4 separate regions of the Homo sapiens genome follow, and regions 2, 3 and 4 are each linked to region 1. The links are contacts of gene promoters, found by promoter capture Hi-C in blood cells and fetal thymus (Javierre and others, 2016). All regions are on one chromosome and are shown on one strand. The core of a region is centred on a gene start or on the middle of the fragment in contact, and the rest is flanking DNA. Distances in the headings are between cores, read along the strand shown. Region 1 holds the start of ADAMTS9 (ADAM metallopeptidase with thrombospondin type 1 motif 9). Region 2 has its middle 75 kb from the start of LINC02040. Region 3 has its middle 34 kb from the start of LINC02040. Region 4 has its middle 55 kb from the start of LINC02040.

The links. Contacts are between HindIII fragments. The CHiCAGO score rates a contact against its expected background, and 5 or more counts as called.
Region 2: a fragment that was not itself captured here is called in contact with the fragment with the promoter of ADAMTS9 in region 1 in 1 of 17 cell types (endothelial precursors); the score reaches 13.4 in endothelial precursors.
Region 3: a contact is called between a fragment that was not itself captured here and the fragment with the promoter of ADAMTS9 in region 1, in 1 of 17 cell types (endothelial precursors). The highest score is 6.9, in endothelial precursors.
Region 4: a fragment that was not itself captured here is called in contact with the fragment with the promoter of ADAMTS9 in region 1 in 1 of 17 cell types (endothelial precursors); the score reaches 7.3 in endothelial precursors.

Annotation. Positions count from the first base shown.
Region 1 is chr3:64,686,673-64,689,372 of GRCh38, forward strand. ADAMTS9 (ADAM metallopeptidase with thrombospondin type 1 motif 9) reads right to left here and starts at 1,328. Exons shown (of 40, transcript NM_182920.2): 1 at 871-1,328; 2 at 1-296. The coding sequence starts at 985. The region is part of intron 1 of ADAMTS9-AS2 (ADAMTS9 antisense RNA 2); the gene reads left to right. The HindIII fragment of the contact is 3,589 bases long and covers 345-2,700 here.
Region 2 is chr3:65,248,305-65,251,226 of GRCh38, forward strand. No RefSeq gene overlaps it. Among named protein-coding and RNA genes, the nearest start is that of LINC02040, 75 kb to the left of the region's middle. The HindIII fragment of the contact is 958 bases long and covers 785-1,742 here.
Region 3 is chr3:65,207,584-65,210,283 of GRCh38, forward strand. No RefSeq gene overlaps it. Among named protein-coding and RNA genes, the nearest start is that of LINC02040, 34 kb to the left of the region's middle. The HindIII fragment of the contact is 810 bases long and covers 1,007-1,816 here.
Region 4 is chr3:65,228,507-65,231,206 of GRCh38, forward strand. No RefSeq gene overlaps it. Among named protein-coding and RNA genes, the nearest start is that of LINC02040, 55 kb to the left of the region's middle. The HindIII fragment of the contact is 582 bases long and covers 1,061-1,642 here.

The DNA of each region.
Region 1 (2,700 bases), core at 78-2,577:
GGTCTGATTCACCCCGGGCGTCCCGAGGAGGGTGACAGTGAACAGTGGAGCGATAAATCCGGCATTGGCGGTGAGATTAAATAGAAACTGCTGGCCGAAGGCAGAGAGGCGGTAATGCGCCTGGGAGGAGGTAGAGGAGGAAGAGGAGGAGGCGAAGGCAGGCCAGGGGTCAGTGGCAGAGTTAATGCTCCGTCGCGTTCTTTTGAAGTGGACGTTCGTGGGAAAGGGTTCTCCGAGAGCGTTCACTCGGATGGGAGACACGATTTCGTATTCGCTCAGGGTCTCTAATAATTTCACTGCGGAGAGAAGCAGAGGTATATGAACCAATAATTCATTTTTCCTTAAGCTTTAATTTAAAACGAAGGTGGGGACTTTGTTCTGACCTTATTTTCCAGCCCATTCGAGTCAATCCCTTCACCCTTAATCAGTGGACAAATATTTGCTGAGCACCTACTATGTGCCAGTAACAGGACCTGTGCTAGGTGCTGAGGATACACTATTCCGAGCCAGACAATTAACAAGTCAAAATATATATGATTTCAGATATTGATAAATAACCTGAATAAAATAAAACATGACGCTATCTGGTGCCCCCAATTACTAAGTTACTTTAGTTTGCGGCGTGGGAGTGGGGATGGGGATATATCTGGCAACAGCAAGGTAGGGGGGGGTTGCCTAAATTCGTTTCCATAGTGTCCCTCCCTAGCAATTGGTTGGGGATGACCCAAAGAAGGGAGAGGCTGCAAAGCGGGAGATAATTCTTTCTAGGAAAAGGAGAGAAGCCTCCGCTGCGGGGTGCCCCTGCCCAGGAGCGAGGACCGGGAGGCGGCGTCGGGGCCGGCGGGGTCCCGGGGGCCGGAGCCTGGTTACCTTGCCTCGGGTGCAGCCTGTCCTTGCGCACGGCCGCCGCGGCGTCTGGGCTCCCCATCTCGGCCAGGTCCCGCACCAGGAGCGTTAGCAGTGTGGCCCAGGATACAAACTGCATGGTGCTTCCCACCCCTCCCTCCGCTGCCCCCACCCCCCTCCCTCCTGCCCTCCTTGGCTGCGGCGGCGACGCGAGGCAGCGGCCGTGGAGAGCGCGCGGAGCCCGGCGCCCGCCGCCAACTTTTGACTTTAGGAGTCGCTGAGGTCTCGCTGCGAGGGTCCCGTCTGCGCTCGGCTGAGCAACGCCGCCGCCTGCCGAGAGCTGAGCCGCTCGGGCCGCAGGAGGAGCCGGAGGAGCAGGAGGAGGAGGAGGACTGGGGCTCGGCTGCTTGGCCGCATAATGCCCAGCGAGCGGGCAGGAGAAGGCGAGGAACTTGCGCTCCGAGGCGCGCCGGGCGCCCTGTGCTGGCCGGGATAGCTGAGCGGCTTCTTGAATGGGGGGCTGGGGGGGCGGAGGCGGGGGGGCCGCGGGTCCACAGCCTCTCAAATGCCCCCGGTGCACGCCTCTAAGAGGAGGAGAGGGGAGGAGAAAGCGAGACGAACGGGGACCGCCTCCTTCCAGACCATGTCCCCTCCTCGGCCGGCCCGTGCGGGACTCGCAGCCGGAGGCCCTGCCGGCTGCAAGAGGCGGAGGCCAGAGGCGTCACCAGCGCCGGGGCAGCTGTTCCTGGTCCCCGCCACCTCGCTGAAGTGGGGTTTTCTGAGATTCCCTGCCCCGGGGAGGGAAAGCAGGGAAAGTTCTCTCCCTTTCCTGGCGCGCGTGCAGCCACTTCCCCTCTCGTCTTTTTCCTCTCCTCTCCTCTCTCTCCTCCCTTCCGAGTCTCTTTTTCCTCCTCCCCCTTGTCTCTCTGCTGCTGTGCCTCTCGGACTCTGTCCCTTCTCCCCATTTTCCCCTGTGATGTCTGTCTTCTCCCCGCCCCACCGTGTCCCTGTCTGTTTCTCACATTTCTCCTTTTCCTTTCCTTTCTCTTCCGTCCCCATCTCTTGCCACCAGTCCCCATCTTTTGGTTTCTTACAAGTGAAAGTGGCCCAGCGCCGGAGCGCCTTCCCTTCCTACACTTTTTCATTCGGGAAGAGATTTGGCACCTGAGCTCCGCTCTCGATTTAATCACCCCAAGTCAAGAGTTTTAGAAATGGGGTTCTTAATCCTGCAGGTCGGAGTGTGTTTCTAATACGTGGTCTCTTGAAAATTTCGCAAAATATTTAAGCTGTGCTTTCCACCAACCTCTGTCACCATTCATGGAGGGTCCATAGCATTCTGTAGGTCCCCTGCCCCAAAAAAGGTTAAGAACAAATTTTGGCAGCAAGAAGGGGCGGGGACTCTGGCGCCCCTCACTACCAGGGGGTTTAGAGATGGGAGGGGAAGGGGGGATGGAGTGTAAAGTTGTAGATCCCTGTGGGAGGCACCAGTCCCTGGAGGGATTTCTCAATCACTTCCGCTTGCTTTCAGCCTGAGAGATGCTTGGAAAGACTGGGAAAGACTGAAAGCAGGCGCTTCAAGCTACACCTTCGTGTGTGTGTGTGTGTGTGTGTGTGTGTGTGTGTGTGTGAATTGTTCAATCTTGGGTGGTTCAGTGGCGCCTTTTCTTTAACCAGCCCTCAGGAAGATAGAATTTCAAGATAATTTCAAGAGGAAAGACATGACAATATCGTTAAAAATATATAAATATATGACTAATAAATATATATTTGCCCAAGTATCCTAGAACGGGGGTTGAGGTTCTGTTGCGTGGTAGGTTAGCACTCAGGACTAGAAATACCAAAGATTGCCAACAC
Region 2 (2,922 bases), core at 14-2,513, 560 kb after region 1:
GTGAGTGAGGGAGCTCTGATTGCTTCTCTATGCTTCTGCATTGCTGAGAGGGAGAGGAAATACAGGAGAAGACAGCCCAGACTCTGCCATCAAAGACAACTGTGTTTACGTCACTACAATTTTTTAACCCTTCTTGAAATTCACAAAAGCATCAAGGTGAACCTTCTAAATGTTGGAAGATGAATCTAGTTCCTAATCTCAGATGAGCAAGAAATGGTTTTTTCTATTTAAATCAAATTGTCTGATTCCCAGTGCCCATCTGACCATGGGCTCAAATACCTCTCAGTGCTTATTGCTGTTGCTGCCCTCCCAGGGATGCACCAACATCCCAGGGTCTTACCCAACCCCAAGCAAGAGAGTGGGAGGTGACACTTCGTCTACCCAATAGGGCATCTGTGGCACACTGTTTCCAAGGAGAGGTTCCGTGGCGGCTGTGCCATGCTGGTGACTTGAGAATCTTGGGCTAGTCCTGAGTCCTGAGTTTATGACCCCATCTCTGGGTGCCTTGGGTAGGCATCACTCCTCCCCAGTCTAGGGAAAAAACCTTAGATGGATCTGCTAACCTCAGTTCCGGCAGAGCTTCACCATCTTTAGGCACTTCCAGTTCCTGCAAACACATCCTTACTTTCAATCCTTGACCTTGAACACCCTCCCTCTGCTCTACATGCTTCGACCCTTTGTCTCATCTCTTCTACAAACTTAGGCTTTTTGGAGAGGCAGAAACAGTATTTTGTTTAGGCAAATTTGGCTCTCAATCTCGGAGAACAAAAATGAAAATTTAAAAAGCTTAGTTAAGGAAATATCAAGGGCATGACTCCTTCTTGGAACAGAGAAAAGGGAAAAGGCAGGGAGAATACAGACTCCTCAAAAAAATTTTTTTAAATATTTAATTTAAAGAGCAAACTGAACCACACCACTCCCTCAACTACAGCTTTTCAATGACTTGCCATCACCTATTATATAAAGTATCTCACTATTATTGATAAAACAATTTAAGGTGCTATCCCTGCCTGATAAAGTGCTTTACAAACTTTAATGTGCATCAAATCACCTGGCAGTCTTCTTAAAATGCAGATTCTGATTCAGAAGTTCTGGAGTGAGGCCTGGGATTCTACCTTTCTAACAAGCTCCCAGGGGATGCGAAGTCTACTCCTTCAAGGACCACACTTTGAGTAGCAAGGGACCACAGCTTTCGCTTCAGATATACCACATATAAAACTGTCTCTGTAACATCACACAATTGTTTCTTAGTGGACTGTAGGATAACCACCTGCCTGAGAATTATCTAGGGCCTTTTGTGTCAAATGCTGGTTTTCTGGACTTCATCCCAGATCCACTGGTTCAGAATCTCTGTGGTGGGTCATGGTGTCTGTATTTTTTTCAAATATATTTTGTGTGTGTATCTGCATTTTAACAAGCTCTCTCGGTGCCTTCTATGCTCAGTAGCATTTAGGATGCATTGCCCTTGCTTTATCCATGATTAACTACTCAGTGTGTTCCTAAGGTGTCTTTCACCTGCCTGCCCCCAGGCCTTTGCATTGACTGGGGATTCTACTACCAATGTCCTTACCAGCATCCTTCTCCACCTCTTGTCTATACATTTTACCTGGATTCTTCTTACTAACCCTTCGGAAGCCTTCTCGGTCCACTGCCAATCTGCAGTGGATACCCTCTGTGCTGCATTAAAGCATCCCATGAATACTTTGGTCCTCTTGTTTTGTCTATTGGAATGTCTCCCTCCAAGCTTAGGAGCAACTTGAGGGCAGAAAGTTCTTTATCATTTACATCCTATGGACATAACCAGATGGATGGATGATGTATGAAACAGATAGACAGACAGACAGACAGAAAGACAAGACAAGACTAGATGGATAAGATAAGATAAGATAAGATAAGATATAGTGTGAGGTGGGATAAGGTAAGATAGGTGATGGATAAAATGAATCAAGGGTAGATCAGTATTTCCATCCAGATACATATAGAAGTTTTACATTGAATAAAATTCTTAGGAGTTGTTTAAAATAAGTTTTGCTAAATGCACCAACAGATGTCAAGGTCAAAGCAGGGCTCTTCCTCCCAAGAAGAGTGCTGCACCCTCAGTTTTATCTTCCACACTGTCAGAGAAGTGACAATATAATCTCTCTTAAAAAGGCATTTGAGACTACCTTCTTCCAAAGTCCCATGCATGCACTTTTATTCACCTTTCTGTCATCCACAAAGTGCATCTCAGTTTCTGCCACCATAGCTGCTGTGTTACAGACTAAAATTTCAGGAGAAAGAATAGCTAGAATTTATTAGGCATTTTCTGCCATCTAGGGACTCTACCAATCACTTTTACGTTAAATATCTCTTACAAGCTGCACAATGACCCTAATGTATATTGCCAATGGGAAACTGAGTCTAAAGAGGTTAAGACAGCTACTTCAGATCAAGGAGCTAGGAAAGAGGACGAAACTTGAGACCCAGGACTGTCTCACCCCAGAGGCAATGCTCTGAACCTCTGTGTCACTTCCCAGGGAATATGCTCTGGTCACCCATGGGCACAGCATTCAAAGCCTTTGGGACATTCACTGGGTAGACTTTCAGACTGTCACCTTTTCACTGGATGACTATGGGTCATTTTCATCATGGAAAACTTTGTGACTGAGAAATCTTTGCATCACTTCCTAGGAAGTAAATCACACTTCACCTAGCCCAGTTCCCATCCATACTTCTAGGATCTCACTCTCCCAGACGGTCTTCTATTTCTTGACTTCCATGTCTTCTTTTGTCAACACAAAGGGAAGAAGTCAAAATCAGCATGTGTTTTGTGGTTAGCAAATGGTACATTAATTAAACTAACCAAAGAATTCACCCAGCCCCAAGGTTTTGTTCTCAGTGTTACTTACAATTTCTGGAAGAATGATGCTATCAGGTTAAAAT
Region 3 (2,700 bases), core at 162-2,661, 520 kb after region 1:
TTTGGCACAAGGAATAAAAATAAAATCATTTGCATAGATATTATTGAAATTAGAATCTTAAAAGGTTTATACCCCAAGGTGCTTTATTCTAAAAAATAGTTTCACTTTTTTTTGAGAAGTATCTATAGAAGGAACTATTATTTATTATGTTTTAGGGCCTTTTTTCCACTACATAGAGGGGTACAATCTAGATTTTGCATGTTTGCTATTTACTCTCAAATAAGTACCTCTATTTTCCTTTCCATATAAAAGACAATGTCAGATTGTCCCTGGAGAACAATAGGCACTGGCAAGTAGCCTGAAGATCTCCTTCACGTGCATGTTTCCCAGGTGGAGGACCAACGCAGAAGTGGAGAGTAAATCACCAATAGGGGATTGGTTTTGGCAACATGAGAATTTGCTCAGCTTGATTCAAGTTGTGTATGTGCCAAGTTCACTCAAACACAACACATAACCTGCCATCTAGATATTAAGCCAGGATATGTGATGTACAGAGAAATATTATATGTCAGCAGAGAGCTCTGCTACAAAACTTCTTTCCATCACCAAAATAACAATAGAAAAATTCATGCTTTTTCAATTGCACATCAGTGGTCCTGATCTTCAAAATTGTAATAAATCTTCCTTAATGTTAATTCCCAAGCTAATTATGAACAACCTGAGCACAAAGTCTAACGCTTGGAGTTTTCTGTGAGTAATGCTCCTCCCTCTTCCTAAAATCCCTTCAACTGAAAGAATGGAAGCAAGGTAAGAAGGGACAAGTGTCTCCCCTCTGTTACCTCACTCAGTATTTTCCATGAGAAGCATCTCATGTTGGGTGGCGGGCTGGGGGGTGGTCTGAGCTCGCTGGAGCAGCTCTCAGGTCTTGTGGCCAAAGGGATGACGCCAGAGGTCCACAACGCCGGGAACTCCCAAGATGGAATAGTCCTTGAAGCCATTTTGAAGGGACTTGCTTGGATATATAATTCAGCTGGGTGTAATTGTGACAGGAGATATGATAGCCAAAAGCTTGAACTGTCGATCTTAATTCTCAGATCCTCCAACTCAGTGGGAAGGTCCTATCTTTCCTACCTGCCTTTGGAAACACCAAAGTCACCTTTTCTATGCTCTGGCCCCCTGCCTTCCTAAATAGCTCTTAGTTACGAACTACTGATAACTTCCTGTATGGACACAAATTATTTTTAGCAATTTTACCCAAAACCTTTAGACTGGACATTGTTGTGATTTTCTAATATTCACTTAATTCCTCCCCCATAGCAAAGTAGACACACAGTTTGGGAAGAAGAGCCTCACCCTCAAAACTCCCACTCCAGGTGAGCGGTGCTGACGCTTTCCGGTCTTTCACTTATCAGGGGGGGCGGGGTGCCCTGAAGGCTAACAGCACAGGTGCTGGTGTTAGATCCTAAGTTCCAATGTTAGTTCTGCCTCTTACCTTCTCCAGCCTTCATTTTCTTCATTTCTACAATGGGGATTATAATGGTACCCCTCCTTAAGGGCATGTTGTGGGGGTTAAATGAGACTGTCCACGCAAAATGGTTTTAGCAGTGCATATAGTAGGCATTCAGAACATAACAGGGATATAGTGGGGCTCAACACAAGGCAGCAAGTGTGACCACTGTATTAATGTTTCGGGGGAAAAGTGGTGCCAAAAAAGTGACTTTATGAATTCAGAAACCAAAGGACTCAGAGAGTAACAATATATGAGGCTTCAAATGGAAATGGACAAGTTGGGTGGGAAAGAAGAAGTTAGACAGGCAAGTGTCTAGGCAATTGGCTTGTGTGTCCTGTGGCTGCAGAGATGGTGGGACAAGTAACAAGCTTCCAGGTCTGTCAAGTTGCTCTTCTCCCAACCCCTAGGGATCTGATGAGGCCACAACAGAGTCTTAGTACTGAGGCAATGGAAACTTAGTAGTATCAAATACAACCCTCTCTTTTTCCAGATGGAGAAATGACTTGCTCTAGGTCATGCAATGGTTCATGGTACAAATAGAAATGCAACAAAGATCTCCTGGCAGCCAGACTGGCATTTTTTTAACCCAGCAACCAGGTATCTAATTAGCTTCTATTATAATGCTCCCATGAAAGCATTCAGTGTATCATGAGCTGCAAGACAACTTTACACACAAACAAATCCTAGTTAAAGCTTTAACTACTGAGAAGAAAAATGTGGCACCATGCATTCCTTTGCATCAGTGAGAAGACTAGAAAGCAATCATTATTTTGCTAAAATTTGCAAACCATTGAATCAATAGAATGTACTTACATTAGGGTATCAGTCTACACACAAAAGAGTTAACTACAGAACATAAACTGGGTGCAAGCAGAAAGATGGGATGTTGATTAAGAAAAATGGTCCTAGCTAAACCAGAAGGGCTAAAAAGTGCTTTCACAATCTAAAATTTACCGTTTTGACCCTTACAACTGTCACGAGATCTGGGACACAAGGACCCACATTTCAGTTACTTAAATTCTCAGGGCTCCAGATTCTGCTTCTATAAACAGAAGATAATAACATCTGACTCACAGCATTGTTTTCATGAGACATTAGTGAGAAATTGTTGATGATGTCCAGCACAGTACCAGACCCAGGGTGTTTGGCACTGCCTCTCCCAATCCAGGTATAGCCAAAGATACTCATTTTCTGGAAAAGCAATAATTATCTGTTATGCAGCAGGTCTTTCCTAATTGGGCTCTTGTTCT
Region 4 (2,700 bases), core at 102-2,601, 540 kb after region 1:
TTCATTCATTCCATAAGCATGTATCAAACACGCACTGTGTGCCAGGTACTGTATTTGGTACTGGCAATTTGATTCCTGTTTAGCATTTTGAATAGAAATGACCACAGATTCTCATAGATAATCATCGCAGGGTGTGATATGTGCTGTGTGAAAATCATATGCAGGGTGCACTGAAAACACAAAGGACAAGGTAATACCTGAGAGGTCAGAGTCACAAATCATAGTAAAGGTCACCTATTCTGAGCCTAAGAACAGTAGTAGAATTTTCCCAGGTAAGCAAGCAGACAGAAGGACATTACAGCAAAGGGAACAGATATGCAAAGGTTCAGAAGTCTTTTTGAGAAATACAAATTCTGGGAAATGGCAAGTGAATTATGGCTGCAGTAGAGGAAGCACAGATCCCAGCTATAGACAGGACCTGGATGGAACTGTGGTCTGGGTGAGACCTGAATGGCCCCTAAATGGCACATAAAGGAATCTGGATTTAATATTGCAGGACACCAAAAAGATTTTGAGAATTTTTATCTTCAAACACATGATCTCATTTTATGAGACAGTGAAGGTTAAATATAAGGGCTTTGGGGTCACGGGGTTGTTGAGATGATTAGGTTGATGTCTGTATGTATAGCTGTATAGCTCACAGTGTCTGAGCTATACTCTGCACTCAATAGATCGTAGATATTGCACTAGTAAGAGTGAGAAATCATTGTTAATCCTCACAGCAACCATTTGAAGGAGGCGTGAGAGGAGAGGAAAGGAAAGCTCAAAAGGGCTTAAGGGACTTGACCTAACTCCAGTAAGTAGTTTGTGGAGAAGCATGAACTTAACATCACATTTTGGGACTCTAAGTCCAGTGCTGTCTCTTTTCTTAACATCATAATGTGTCGCTTCATGTTTTAGTCTGTTTTGTGCTTCTACAACAAAATATCTAAGATTGGGTAATTTATAAGAAATGAAAATTGTTTTCTTACTGTTCTGGAGGCATGGAAGTCCAAATCAAGGTGCCAGCATTTGATCTAGAGAGGGCCTTCCGGCTTTGTCCTCACATGGCAGAAGGGCAAGCTTGCTGAACGCTGCATGAAGTCTCTTTTAGAAGGGCCTTAATCAAATTCTCGAGGAAGCAGCCCTCATGACCTAATCACCCCTTAAAGGCCCCACCTCTTAGAACTATCACATTGACAACACCTGGATTTTGGAAGGGACAAATTCAAACCATAGCATCCTAACTTTTTCACTTACAGTCAGCCCAGAGGGAGCAAAATGACACTTTCTAAAACACTGTCCCTTCAGTTCCTCCACAAAGGAAGGCTAAGAGAAAAGACAGGATTGGGCTAACCATTAGCCTGGTTGCAAATAACATCAATGATAACACTAACACAGCAGGAATAACCACAGCGTTAAAAACCACTAACTTTTACCGAGCACTAGGTGCCAGGCACTGAGCTAAGTACATTGTACCACGTAACAACCCCCTAAATTAAGTGCTGTTCTACAGATGAACAAACTGAGGATCAGAGAGGTTAAACAACTTGTCCAAAGCTACAAAGACTGTAATTCATAGAGTCGAACCTGTACCAGATCACTCCTAAGCCAGTATATTTAACTTCTGTAAACAAAATTCTATATCCTGTCAAAAGCCATAAGCTTTAACACGGAGTTTTTCCAGAGCTGATGCTTCAGAATTGGACCCAGGAATCACTGGCTTGTTAGGCCACACAGTGACCCTGGCACATTGCAATCCTGTCTCTTGAAGAAGGGCAATCTCCTATTTGAAAAGCTACGTTGTGAAAAGTCTCTCTGCTCATGTAATGGGCTGAAAGGAACATCCGCAACTGAGTTTCACCACCCGGCAGTGTGTCTAAGGCTGGTGATGAATGGAAGGTGAGAGTGACACTTACTAAATCAGGGTGTGTCCTCCGTGCAGAGGAACGAGGAGCACCGGAAAGCCAGAGTGATTCACTGAGCCTGCTTTGGCTATCTGTGAAGACTTTATTCCAGGCTCACAGCAGGGAAAAACATACTTAAATCTTGCCTGCAGAGCTCTCTGGGAACAAAATCTATCACGTTACTGTAGGGGCAGAGAGAGAAATCAGCTCTGCAATTGTGGGGTGTGTCTAGCGACCAGTCACTGCTGTCAACATTTAAACTTGCCCTGCATGCGTCATGAGATGCTATCAGCAATGGCAGTGCAACACAGTTCTAGCCAGTGGGCCGGGGAGCTCCATGGGCAGCTTTGAGGAGGTAGGAAACAGTATTAATGAACACAGGGTGAGAAAGGGCTTAGTTTAAAGGCTGTACGCCATCAGGAGTAATAAAAGCAGGATGCTAAGAAAGAGAACACTTCATTCATCCTCTCTCATGGTTGGTCATTGTCTCCCTAAACTGAGTATGCGCTTGCTACGAAGCCCAGCCTCCCGTGCTGTGGAGATAAATCACATGCACAGTGGCATTCATGAGCAGGGAGAGACAGGAGTGCTTTAGCAACTCCTTACCACCCCATCCCCTTCTCTAGCCTTATTGCCTACTTCATAATAACCATGGAAGTTATGAGTCACAGCTTTTGTTGAACCCTTGCTCCATGCTAGGCAAAATGCAAAGTCCTTTTAGTCTATTAACTAATTTAATTGGTGAAGCAACCTTCCAAGGTGAGGACCATTATTATCCCTGTTTTACAGATGAGGTTTCAAGTAACTTGCCAGG